Linked DNA regions of Homo sapiens: all the other regions are linked to region 1. Evidence: promoter capture Hi-C in 16 types of primary human blood cells and fetal thymus (Javierre and others, 2016). All regions are on one chromosome and are shown on one strand. The core of a region is centred on a gene start or on the middle of the fragment in contact, and the rest is flanking DNA. Distances in the headings are between cores, read along the strand shown.

Region 1 (4,350 bases), core at 663-3,162:
AAGAACAAAGCTGGAGGCATCATGCTTTCTGACTTCGAACTATACTACAAGGCTACAGTAACCAAAACATCATGGTACTGGTACCAAAACAGAGATATAGACCAATGGAACAGAATAGAGCCCCCGGAAATAATACCACACATCTACAACCATCCGATCTTTGACAAACCTGACATAAACAAGAAATGGGGAAAGGATTCTCTATTTAATAAATGGTGTTGGGAAAACTGGCTCGCCATACGTAGAAAGCTGAAACTGGATCCCTTCCTTACGCCTTATACAAAAATTAATTCAAGATGGATTAAAGACTTAAATGTTAGACCTAAAACCATAAAAACCCTAGAAGAAAACCTAGCCAATACCATTCAGGATATAGGCATGGCCAAGGACTTCATGACTAAAACACCAAAAGCAATGGCAACCAAAGCCAAAATCGACAAATGGGATCTAGTTAAACTAAAGAGCTTCTGCACAGCAAAAGAAACTAGCATCAGAGTGAACAGGCAGCCTACAGAATGGGAGAAAATTTTTGCAATCTATCCATCTGACAAAGGGCTAATATCCAGAATCTACAAAGAACTGAAACAAATTTACAAGAAAAAAACAAACAACCCCATCAAAAAGTGGGCAAAGTATATGAACAGACACTTCTCAAAAGAAGACATTTATGCAGCCAACAGACACATGAAAAAATGCTCATCATCACTGGCCATCAGAGAAATGCAAATCAAAACCACAATGAGATACCATCTCACACCAGTTAGAATGGCAATCATTAAAAAGTCAGGAAACAACAGGTGCTGGAGAGGATGTGGAGAAATAGGAACGCTTTTACACTGTTGGTGGGAGTGTAAACTAGTTCAACCATTGTGGAAGACAGTGTGGCGATTCCTCAAGGGTCTAGAACTAGAAATACCATTTGACCCAGCCATCCCATTACTGGGCATATACCCAAAGGATTATAAATCATGCTGCTATAAAGTCACGTGCACACATATGTTTATTATGGCACTATTCACAATGGCAAAGACTAGGAACCAACCCAAATGTCCATCAATGACAGACTGGATTAAGAAAATGTGGCACATATACACCATGGAATACTATGCAGCCATATAAAAAGGATGAGTTCATGTCCTTTGTGGGGTCATGGATGAAGCTGGAAACCATCATTCTCAGCAAACTATCGCAAGGACAGAAAACCAAACACTGCATGTTCTCACTCATAGGTGGGAATTGAACAATGAGAATACTTGGACACGGGGGGGGAACATCACACACCACGGCCTGTCGTGGGTTGGGGGGAGGGAGGAGGGATAGCATTAGGAGATATACCTAATGTAAATGACGAGTTAATGGGTGCAGCACACCAACATGGCACATGTATACCTATGTAACAAACCTGCACGTTGTGCACATGTACCCTAGAACTTAAAGTATAATAAAAAATAAAAAATAAAAATAAAAAAAAGGAATTGCTATAAACGAAAAAAAAAAGGATTAAAGGGTTCAATGTGTGCCAATTGAAGGGAGATGCAATTGGCACACATTGAACCCTTTAATCCTTTCACCACCCTCCAGGTGCCCTGCTGGCCCCGGTCCTCCAGGTGCCGGCCAGGCCCCCGCTCACTCACGTTCAGCAGCCGGTGCCCGGTGCCCTCCTGGTTCTTGTTCTTAGGCAGGGCCGTCGTGCCCTGGTTCAGGGCGTAAGGGACCGAAGAAGCCTCCGACCCTTTAATGTGCATGATATCCGGGCTGCTGTAGGGATTCCTCTGCAATAGCGGGGTGGCGGACAGGACTTGGACCTGCCCGCTGCGGTTATCAAGTGTGCTGAAAGGCCTATTTGTCTCTTGGGGTGGCTCCATCTCTCCATCTTCTGCGGCCTGTCTGCGCCCAACCGACGGCCCGCTACTGCGCAGGCGCGGCCCTCCCGCAGCCTTTCTCACATTTTCCCAGCGCGTGCGTGCCGCCTAGTGACCCACTCAGGCCGGGCCCATGCTGGGAGTGGCTGGAGGCAGCTTTGGAAGCATGCGTGCTTAGCGAGCCTGGAGGGTCTGCTGCAAGCACTTGCCAGGCCATTTCAGTCTCCTTTAGAAGGAAATCAGAGCACGCTGGTGGAGAGCAAGGCCCCTCATGGGGCCCAACCACTTTAGTTCACTGTCTTGTCCGCCCTGTAGCCCTCACGAGTCCTTTTCTCCCTGCACCATTTCTTTCTAGAAGATTTACAGTGTCAGTCATTACTTCCTCTACACTGTCCCGTGAGCTCCAGACGTTAAATATCCAACAGTCTACTTTGACATCTTTACCCAATTGTTCCACAGACACATAACACGTTAATATTCATCTTCCCTCTTAAACCTCTAGTAGGTTCCAAACTCATTTGGTGCAGCAATGTCATATCCACAAAATCTTAAACATTCAGACACATTTTAAAATTCTGACCCTAAATATCTGAATCTTACTTACCTTTTCCCTTTATGGCACCTAATTTGGGACAACACACACACGAGACAATTGCAATGATTTACTCATGGGTCTGCCAACCTGCTGTCATCCATCCCTTTCACTGCCCCCGTATTAGTCCTTTGCAGTAACGAATGGAGCTGAAGGCCATTATCCTAAGCAGACTAACACAGGAACAGAAAACCAAATACCACGTTCTCACTTATAAATGCGAGCTAAACAATGAGAACACATGGACACAAAGAGGGGAGCAACAGACACTGGGGCCTACTTGACGGCGAAGGGTGGGAGGCGGGAGAGGATCAAAAACTACCTTTTGGGCACTAGGCTTATTACCTGGGTGATGAAATAATCTGTACACCCCCATGACACAAAATTTACCTATATAACAAACCTGCACATGTACCCTTGAACCTAAAAGTTAAAAATATAAATAAATGCAAACAGAACAAAACCAGAGAATTCCAGAACTTCTTTATTGTACATAAAAATCTGAATTTCTTAATATGGAAACCAAAGGTCTGCAAAATGTACTCTCCTAGCTCAGGATCATTATTTATTCCTCTTATTTTTGGAATCTATTCTTCTTTTATTCAAGGACCAACTCAAAGGTCAGCTTTTAGTTAACTCTTATATCCCCATACACATATCCTAAAGGCAGAGTTAACTGCTATATCCAAGCTACTTCTTGGCATATCCTTGTCAGCCTAAATAACAGAGAGGGAGACTCTCTGAAAGAAAATGATGTTTATTCAGGAGTAGGCATTGCAATAAGAATACAAGTGCCACAGTAAACTATGTGCATATACAGGGAGGTCAAGGAAGACAACGGTTTTTAAAGCAAAAATGATTGTTTTGAGAGAATTATCCTTGGCTACAAGGATCAATAACAAGGATGTTGCCAGTTGGACATTGGACAGGGAGTTGCTGGGCAAATGTCCTCATAGAAGTATTTTTTGTGTGTGTCAGGTTGTGATGGCCTTTGTGCAAGGTGTGGTTTTGTGCAGTCTTTTAATGATAGTCCTCATTATCAGACATCTGTGCATGAAAATCGTCCTTTCACGGCCTTCCCCAGCTCTATTTGTTAGGATTTTTAACACAATGACCAGAACTTGATTTTGACAACTTTCACATCCTATTAGTGGGCTCACACTGTTAGTTGCTAATCTCAAAAGATAGAGTTCTTTAGGGGCAGGAACCTGCACCTCACCTTGTGCTCCTCAGAGTACATGGCCCAATATCCCAAGGCCCTTAACACATTTGTCATTATTTCAGATTTATACTATGTGGTGTGTTAATTACTGCACCCCATGAAACTTGCTGTCCAGCAGCTCACTCTGTTCTTAGGGTTCATGTTATGCAACATAAAGTACACAGCATCACAGATGAAGTCATATTTTTTTAAAAAATCTAATCAAACCACCAGACCTAACCTCCAGTCTATAGGAAATTCAGGAGATTGAGGAACAAATTAAGTGATGTCATTAGGAAAAAGTCAGACAATTAAAAAATGTAGGTGAGGCACTCTAAAGCAACTAGCTTGGACTCTTCAAAAAATTGTCATGGGAAATTAGAATGGTACCGCCAACTCTGGAAAACAGCTTGGCAGTTTGTAACTACATACAACCCATCAGTTTCACTCCTGGGCATTTATCTTAAAGAAATGAAAACTTAATGTTCACACAAAAACTTGCACATGAATGTCCACAGCAGCATTATTCACAGACTGGAATGAGCCCAGATATCCTTCAATAGGTCAATGAGTTAAACCAAACAAAACAGTAAAAGGAAATGAACTATTGATACACACAACAGCTGAGATGACTCAGAAAAAAAGAGATCAACAGAAAAAAAGCGAATCCCATAAAATTACATACTGTATGATTC
Region 2 (4,350 bases), core at 819-3,318, 250 kb before region 1:
GACCCAGCCTGCTCCCCTGAGATTGTGGTGCAGCAGAGCCCTCTGCTCCACCCTCAGGCAGAAATCCAGGCATTTGGAGCACTTGCTTGTCTGGACCAGCAGCCTGAGCTGCCTCACCCTTCATGGACATAGATTGTGGTACAGCGTGGCTCTCTCTGCTCCACACCCAGGCAGATCTCCAGGTATCTGGAGCACCCCCTTCCTTGGATCAGCAGCCTGAGTTGTCCTACCTTTCCTGTGTATAGATTGTGGTGCAAGGGTGCCCTCTCCACTCCAACTCTAGGCAGATCTCCAGGCATTTGGAGCACCTGCTCACATGGACTAGCAGCCTGAGTGCCCTACCTTTCCTGTGCAGAGATCTGGGTGTGGGAAAGCCCTCTCCATTTTGCACCCCGGCAGATCTCTAGGCATTAGGTGCACTTGCTCATCTGGTTCAGCAGCCTGAGCCGCTGCCCCTCCCCATTCCAAGACATAGATCATGGTGCAGCAAGGCCCTCTCTGCTCCATGACCAGGCAGATCATCAGGCATTCGGAGCACCCATTTTCCTCGATCAGCAGTCTGAGTCACCCAAACCCTCCTACGCAGAGGTCTTGGTATGGGGGGCCCTCTCTCCTCCATGCTCAGGCAGATCTCTAGGCATTTAGAGCACTCACTTGCCTGGAACAGCAGCCTGAGCACCTCACCCTTCCTGTGCATAGATCCTGGTGCAGTGGGGCTCCATGCCTAGATAGAGCTCCAGGCATCTGGAGCAGTCACTCTACTGGATTAGTTTAAGCCGCCCCCATCCCTTTGCAGGGAACTTGGGGTCGAGGAAATTTCCCAAGCATCTCTGGGTGCTTGGTAGTGGCTACCCACTGCATTCTCCCTCAGTGCTGGTACTTGTACCTGCCATCAGGGGACCTGTAGTTGGACCTGCCTAGTCCAGCTCTGCTCATTTTGGCCCCTCCCTCCCTGTGTCTGAGCAGGGAGCTCAGACCACTATGCACCCCATGAATCAGCTCATTGCCTGAGGTAACAGAGCTTTTCCCCATAAACAAGGATCAAGTATATACTCAGTCACATTGGCCATAGCAGGCTCTTACCTATTAGCACCATCTACTGGTTTGTAGGTTGAACTGCACAGCCCAGTATAAAACCTGCTGACAGAAGTGAATAGGGTTATAGAAGCAAAGCCAAAAGACCCTACCCAGCATTCTTTATAGTCACACTCCCTAGAGAGGGGGGAAAAGGGAAAGGGAAAGAAAAAAAACCCCAATAATATTATAGGGACAGAAGGAAAAATAAATAATCCTAACCTATATGAAAATACTATAAAATTAAAATGCCAGCATCTCCAGATGAGAAGGAATCAGTGCGAGAATTCTGGCACCATGAAAAATCTCAATATAGTGACACCACCAAAGGATCAAACTTGCTCTCCAGCAATGGTCTATAGCCAAAATAGAAACTCAGAAAGAACGGATAAATAATTCAAAGCATGGATTACAAGGAAGATCAATGAGATCCAAGTCAAGGTTAAAAATCAACAACACAAAACTTCTAAAGCAATCCAGGAAATGAAGCAAGAGATAAACATCTTATAAAGAAATCAATCAGAGCTTCTGAAGTTGAAAAACTCACTCAGGGAATTTCAAAATACAATTGAAAGCTTTATCAATAGTCTGGACCTAGCAGAAGAAAGAATTTCAGAGCTTGAAGACTGATCTTTTGAGCTAACTCAGTTACACAAAAATAAGGAAAAAATAATTTTTAAAGGTGAACAAAGGCTTTGAGAAATATGGGATTATGTAAAACAACCAAACCTGTGAATTACTGGCATTCCTGAGAAGGAAAAAAGTGAACAACCTGGAAAACATATTTGAGGGAATAATTCAAAAAAGTTTCCTTAATCTTGCTAGAGGTAGACATCCAGATACAAGAAATCCAGAGAACACCTGCAAGATACCATACAACATGAGCATCACCAAGGTATATAGCCACCAGACTGTCCAAGGTCAATGCTAAAGAAAATATATATATATATATTTTTCAAGATGGAGTCTCACTCTGTCACTCAGGCTGGAGTGCAGTGGCATTATCTTGGCTCACTGCAGCCTCCTCCTCCTGGGCTCAAACGATTCTTTAGCCTCAGCTTCCTGAGTAGCTGCGACTACAGGTGCATACCACCACGGCCAGCTAATTTTTATATTTTTAGTAGAGACCGGGTTTTGCCATGTTGGTCAGGTTGGTCTTGAACTCCTGACCTCAAGTGATCTGCTGACCTTGGCCTCCCAAAGTGCTGGGATTACAGGTGTGAGCCACCGCGCCCAGGAGAAAACATTTTAAAGGCAGCTAGAGAAAAAGGTCGGATTGTGTACAAAGATAATGCATCAGGCTAACAATGGACTTCTCAGCAGAAACCTTACGTGCCAGGGGAGATTGGAAGTCTTTTTTCGGCATTTTTAAAGACAAGAAATTCCAGCCAAGAATGTCATATCCCTCCAAATTAAGCTTCATAAGCAAAGGAGAAAGAAAATATTTTCTAGATAAGCAAGAGCTAAGGGAATATGTTACCACCAGATCAGCTGTACAAAAGATTCTTAAAGGAGTTCAAAACACGGAGACGATAGAATGATATGTGCTATCACAGAAACACACTTTTAAGAACATAGCCCACAGATCCTATAAAGCAACCACACCACAGAAATTGCAAAACAACCAGCTAACAATCTCATGATAGAATCAAAACCTTGCATATCAATATTAACCTTGAATGTAAATGGTTTAAACACCTCACTTAAAAGGCACAGGGTGGCAAGTTGGATAAAAAAACAAAAGCCATCCATTTGCTACCTTCGACTGACCATTGTCACACATTAATAACATCCATAGGCTCAAAGTAAAGGGTTGGAAAAAGATTTACCATGCAAACAGAAAACAAAAAATGGGTAGGGGTTGCTATTCATATATCAGATAAAACACACTTTTAACCAACAACAGTAAAGAAAAGGACAAACGATAAAGAGTTAATTCAACAAGAAGACTTAACTACCCTAAATATATATACAGCCAACAATAGAGCAACCAGATTCATAAAACAGGTACTTCTAGACCTACAAAAAGACTTAGCCACACAATAGTAGTGGGGGACTTCAACACCACATTGACAGCATTAGAGAGATCACTGAGGCAGAAAACAACAAAGAAATTCTAGACTTAACTTCAACACTTGACCAATTGGGCCTAATAGACATCTACTGAATATTCCACCCATCAACCACAGAATATACATTCCTCTCATCTGCACACAGAACAGACTCCAAGATTGACCACATGCTTGGTCATAAAGTAAGTTTTAAGAAATTTAAAAAAAAAATCAAAATCATAACAACCATACTCTCAGACCACAGTGGAATAAAAATAGAAATCAGTATCAAGAAGACTGTTCAAAACCACATAAGTACATGGAAAATAAACAACTTGCTCCTGAATCACTTTTGGGTAAACAATGGAATTAAGGTAGAAATAAAAAAATTCTTTGAAATTAATGAAAACAGAAACAATATATCAAAATCTCTGGGATACAGCAAAAGCAATATTTAAGAGGAAAGTTTATAGCAGTAAACACCTACCTCAAAAAGTTAGAAAGATCTTAAATTAATGATCTAACATCACACATAGAGGAAACAGGAAAAGAACAAACTAATCCCAAAGCCAGCAAAGAAAAGAAATAAGTCAGAGCAGCACTGAATGAAATTGAGACCCCAAAATCCATACAAAGAATCAATGAAACCAAAAGTTGGTTCTTTGAAAAAAATAAACAAGACTGATAGACTGCTAGCTAAATTAACAAAGAAAAGAAGATCCAAGTAAGCCTAGTCAGAAAGGACAGAGGTGACATTATAACTGAGAGAAATACAAAAGATCCTCAGAGATTATTATGAACACCTCTATGCACAAAAACTAGAAACCTAGAGGAAATGGATAAATTCCCGGAAACACACAACTTCCCAAGATTAAATCAAGAAGAAATCGAAAGCCTGAATAGACTAACATTAAGTTCCAAAATTGAATCAGTAATAAAAAATTTAACCACCAAAAAAAGGCCCAGACCAGAAGAATTCACAGCCAAATTCTACCAGATATACAAAGAAGAGTTGATACCAACTCTACTGAAACTATTAAAAAAAACTAAGGAAGGACTTCTCCCTAACTCATTGTATGAAGCCAGTTTTGGTATCATTCTAATCCCAAAACTGGGCAAAGACACAATGAAAAAAGAAAACTAAAGGCCAGTAATCCCTATGAACATAGACACAAAAATCCTGAACAAAATACTAATAAACTGAATCCAACAGCACATCAAAAAA
Region 3 (4,350 bases), core at 984-3,483, 220 kb before region 1:
CAATGTCAGTGTGCTCAATCCTCCTAAACAAGTAGATCTTCGTGCCTTGTTTCAGAACCTTCTTTACAACTAGATATACACATCTGATAAAAGAGTACATAATTTTCAGAGTATATTTTAACTGTAAAATTTCTTCAAGTGCAGTATATGCCCCAGTTCATCAGAATCACCAGGGTTGAAGATGCTTATTAAAAATGCAGATTCTAGGCTCTCACTCCAGACCACTTGAAGTAGAAGCTCTTGGGATGGTGCCTGGAAATCGCCATTTAAAACTTGCTCTCCGAGGTGATTCTTTCCCCCTCCCTCCTACAAGATATCACTCTGTTGCCCAGGGTTGAGTGCAGTGGTGTGATTATGGCTCACTACAGTCTCAATCTTCTGGGCTTAAGTGATCCTTCTACCTCAGCCTCTCAAATAGCGGGGACCACAGGCGTGCACCACTACACCTAGCTAAGTTTTTGATTGTTTTGTAGAGACGAAGGTTTCCTTATGTTGTACAGGCTGGTCTCAAATTCCTGGGCTCAAGCCATCCTCCCACCTTGGCCTCCCAAAGTGCTGGGATGACAGGCATGAGCTACTGTGCTTGGCTCCAGGTGATACTAATGCATGCTAAAGAATCACTAAGTTATATTTAATAAATAAAATTTTATGTAGATAGAAAGTAAGAGATTTTTTGCTTCTTCTCCTGACACACCTGCACAAAGATTTACTACTAGAACTTATCTTATTTTAAAAACTGTTGAGCTAGTTTAGGTCAGCTGGTAAAAGAGTGATATACTCCTAAAGAATCTTATAAAGTTGAGGTTTTCCCTATTAATCAAGAAGGATGTTACCACGTTACTAGTTTTAGGGACAGGACTTTTAAAATGCTTTATTCTTTTTCTTTCTTTTTTTTTTTTTGAGACGAAGTCTTGCTTTGTTGCCCAGGCTGGAATGCAGTGGCACATCTGGGCCCACTGCAATCTCTACCTCCTGGGTTCCAGTGATTCTCCTGCTTCGCCTCCTGGGTAGCTGGGATTACAGATGCCCACCACCATGCCCAGCTAACTTTTGTATTTTTATTAGTGATGGGGTTTCACCATGTTGGCCAGGCTGGTCTTGAACTCCTGACCTCAGGTGATCCACCCACCTCGGCCTCCCAAAGTGCTGGGATTACAGGCGTGAGCCACCACAACCAGCCAAAATGCTTTACTTCTTAGATCTCATAATATCATCTTAACCTTTTGTTGTTGTTTTTTAAATCTGGTAATTCCCCTTTAATAATTCTTATTCATGAAGATGAAAGAAACTAGTCACTCTTTCCCCTCCTGAATTACACAAGATAAAGATTTCATTACCTCCATTGTCAGTTGCCGTTGGGCATCTTTGGAAGCTTGCAGGTGAAGTTTTAGTTCTTCCTTCTCAATCACATGCTAACAACATATTAAAAAAGACATGTGAAGCCTTTCCAAGTAAAATATAGCTATTCTCTTTCTTATAAAGACATGTGAAGAATTTCTCTCTGGGGTATCATCTTAAAGCCTACAAAAAGCTAACCTTTCAAAAGCTAAATAAGATAGGCATTCGAATACAAAATCTATCAAGGTGTTCAGAGGACAATGGGCATGAGTCAATAATTTACACCACTTTCTGAGGAAGCACTAACCCCATTTTACAAAGAGAAATAATGACTTGAAAGTATTTATTCATGATATCTTATATGACATAAAGATGATTAAAACAGCAATCAGATTAGGGCATTTTAAAAGGGCAGGGACAATGTTTATTTTGTTTATTGTATCTAGCACTTAGCATGGTGCAAGATACTATGTGAGTGCTTAACAAATATCTGTTGAATGAATGAATAAACCTACTTCTTTAAGTTTGTGCTGAAGGTCTACAATCTGTGACAAAAGAGAGGAAAGCTCTTCTTGGTATCGAATCAGCTCATCACTCTTCCCTGACAATTCTTCAGTCATTCTGGACATCTGAGCATTTGTTTCACCTTGGAAGCAAAAAAAATTTTTTTAAATTAATACAAATGTAGAGAAGGAGTTGGCAAACTATGACTTGTGAGCTAAATCTTGTTTTATAACAAGCACTGGACTGTCGTGAATAGATTTTTCTTAAACATAAAAAAAAATCCAGAGAAACCAATAGAGAAAAATAAAAGTTCTTCTGAAATAGGCAAATGCTGGGAACAGAATAGGAGACAATGAAGCTAAAAAGAGAGACGACTTATAAAGGCAAGCAGGCTAAAGGTTTTGCTTCAATCGTTTTCTTTATGAAAACGATATTTGCTCAATCTTTTTCTTTATGAAGGAAAGAAGGCTGAAAGGAGGGCAAGTGCAAAGAGATAATCTCATTCATTTCTTTGAGAACTCTTTAGGGACATAAAATCCCACAAGCAATGAAAATTAATCTTAACAAATCTAACAAAGGAACATTTCCAGAATGGAACAGTCACAATCTATAACAGAATGTGATAAAGCTACGGAAATGCTTCTGTAGGAGACAGACTTTCTGGCATACCCCTTTCAGGGATATGTGGCAAACTGAGTAAAGCCTCTAGAGCAATTGTTATAGCCTGGCCTTCTTACATGCACATAAAATAGAGCCTTTAGAATTCCACTAGGAATTTATTCACTCTCTATCTCATATGAAAAATTTGACATGTAAATACAAGCAGAAAAGCTACTTCTCAGTGTCATGTAAAGCTATTTTAAAATTGACAGATAGCCTCTAATATTTCAAAGGATGGCGATACACAGGCAGGAGATCTGGATCTGAGAGCTCTTGGGCAAGTCATTTCCTGTATTTTAAAGTGTAAAAGGTGGGTAATGTTTTCATGGTGGAGGAGAAAATTCAATTTACATTCCTTCCGGTTCTCTAGTATTCTGCTATTCTAAGATATCACATTTTGAAGCCCATAGCCCAAATGAATTGATGTGATATTTTCATATCATTGTTTTCAATGTAAAAGGCTATATACAGTAGTCCCCTCTTATCTGTCGGGAATACATTCCACGACCTGCAGTGGGTACCTGAAACCACAGATAGTACTGAACTCTATACTGTATATATTATGTGTTTTCCTACAAATAAATACCGATGATAAAGCTTAATTTATAAATTAGGCACAGTAAGAGATTAATAACTAATAATAAAATAATTATAACAATATATCAGCACACTTTGGGGCCATTACTAAGTATAATAAGGGTTACCTGAACACAAGTACTGCAATATTGCGATAGTTGACCTGGTAACTGACGGCTACTAAGAGATGGTTACTAAGTGACTGAAGGCAGGTAGTATATACTGCGTGGAGATACTGGACAAACGGATGATTCATATCCTGGGAAGTATGGAGTAGGATGGCACAACATTTCATCACGCTACTCAGAATGGTTCGCGATTTGAAACTCATGAATTGTTTATTTCTGGAATGTTTGATTTAATATTTTCAGACTGCAGTTGGCCACGGTTAACAGAAACAATGAGAAGTGAAACTGCAGGTAAGGGACAACTGTTGTATTTATGGAGAAATTAAATTTATCTTTCTCCAGTGAAGCCAATCTTTTTCCAACTGACTTGTTTTAAAAAATTGGTTAACATTACCTCAAACTAAAACACATTCCTTTAAAGAAACATAACTGGCACTTTATACTCATTGATTGTTAGGTTTTATGCCATCATTTAAGCCCTGGCTCTGCCACTTACCAGTTTTCTGACTTTGGCATATCATCTTCCTCTACAGGACTATTTCCTCATCAACAATATGAGAGCTTTGGTTCCTTTCACTCTAACATGCTATAACTTACTTACAAAACATAGGTCTGTAATGATAATTGCAATTTGAAACAAATATATTTCTTAAAAATACATATGGTATCTTATTTAGGGTTGTAGGCTCAATGTGATATTCTAAGATTTTCAGTAACCATTTAAAATTGTTTCTTGAGATGCTTCTACTGAAACCAGTGATCTAACTTCCGAGGTGGAGATACCCTACCAAAGAATTGTCCAAAAAGGTACAAAAGAGAATATGTTAATACTCACGAAGTTCTTTAACACAGTCGCTGACAAGCTGTTGTTCCTTTTCTTCATAGGTAACAGTTTCTGTCTTTATGTGACAAGCCTTCAAGAAAAAAATCAGTATGTGACAATACCTTCTAGTGATTTTATAGAAATAACTACAAAAACCTTTAATTCTCATTTGAAGACTAAATTTCATCACTTACAAAGGAAAAAACCCAACAACCTGTTCATACATCTCTACCTGGCTCATCCCTGGCCTTGGCTAAAATGATCCTTGCTTAAGTAGGACTTCCTTGATGCCCATACTATACAAGTTCACAGAATATTGTG

Evidence for each region. The method cuts DNA at HindIII sites, captures the fragments that hold promoters and counts their contacts. A CHiCAGO score of 5 or more calls a contact.
Region 2: a contact is called between a fragment that was not itself captured here and the fragment with the promoter of CATSPERT in region 1, in 1 of 17 cell types (endothelial precursors). The highest score is 5.2, in endothelial precursors.
Region 3: a fragment that was not itself captured here is called in contact with the fragment with the promoter of CATSPERT in region 1 in 1 of 17 cell types (endothelial precursors); the score reaches 6.3 in endothelial precursors.

What each region holds. Positions count from the first base shown.
Region 1 is chr2:201,617,266-201,621,615 of GRCh38, forward strand. CATSPERT (catsper channel auxiliary subunit tau) reads right to left here and starts at 1,913. Exons shown (of 16, transcript NM_001168221.2): 1 at 1,635-1,913. The coding sequence starts at 1,865. TMEM237 (transmembrane protein 237) reads right to left here. Exons shown (of 13, transcript NM_001044385.3): 13 at 2,921-4,350. The HindIII fragment of the contact is 11,514 bases long and covers 1-4,350 here.
Region 2 is chr2:201,363,037-201,367,386 of GRCh38, forward strand. It overlaps a transcript of FLACC1 not described here. Among named protein-coding and RNA genes, the nearest start is that of FLACC1, 7.9 kb to the left of the region's middle. RefSeq lists an enhancer at 831-880. The HindIII fragment of the contact is 842 bases long and covers 1,648-2,489 here.
Region 3 is chr2:201,393,461-201,397,810 of GRCh38, forward strand. TRAK2 (trafficking kinesin protein 2) reads right to left here. Exons shown (of 16, transcript NM_015049.3): 7 at 4,042-4,120; 8 at 1,854-1,984; 9 at 1,338-1,412. Among named protein-coding and RNA genes, the nearest start is that of FLACC1, 38 kb to the left of the region's middle. The HindIII fragment of the contact is 1,727 bases long and covers 1,371-3,097 here.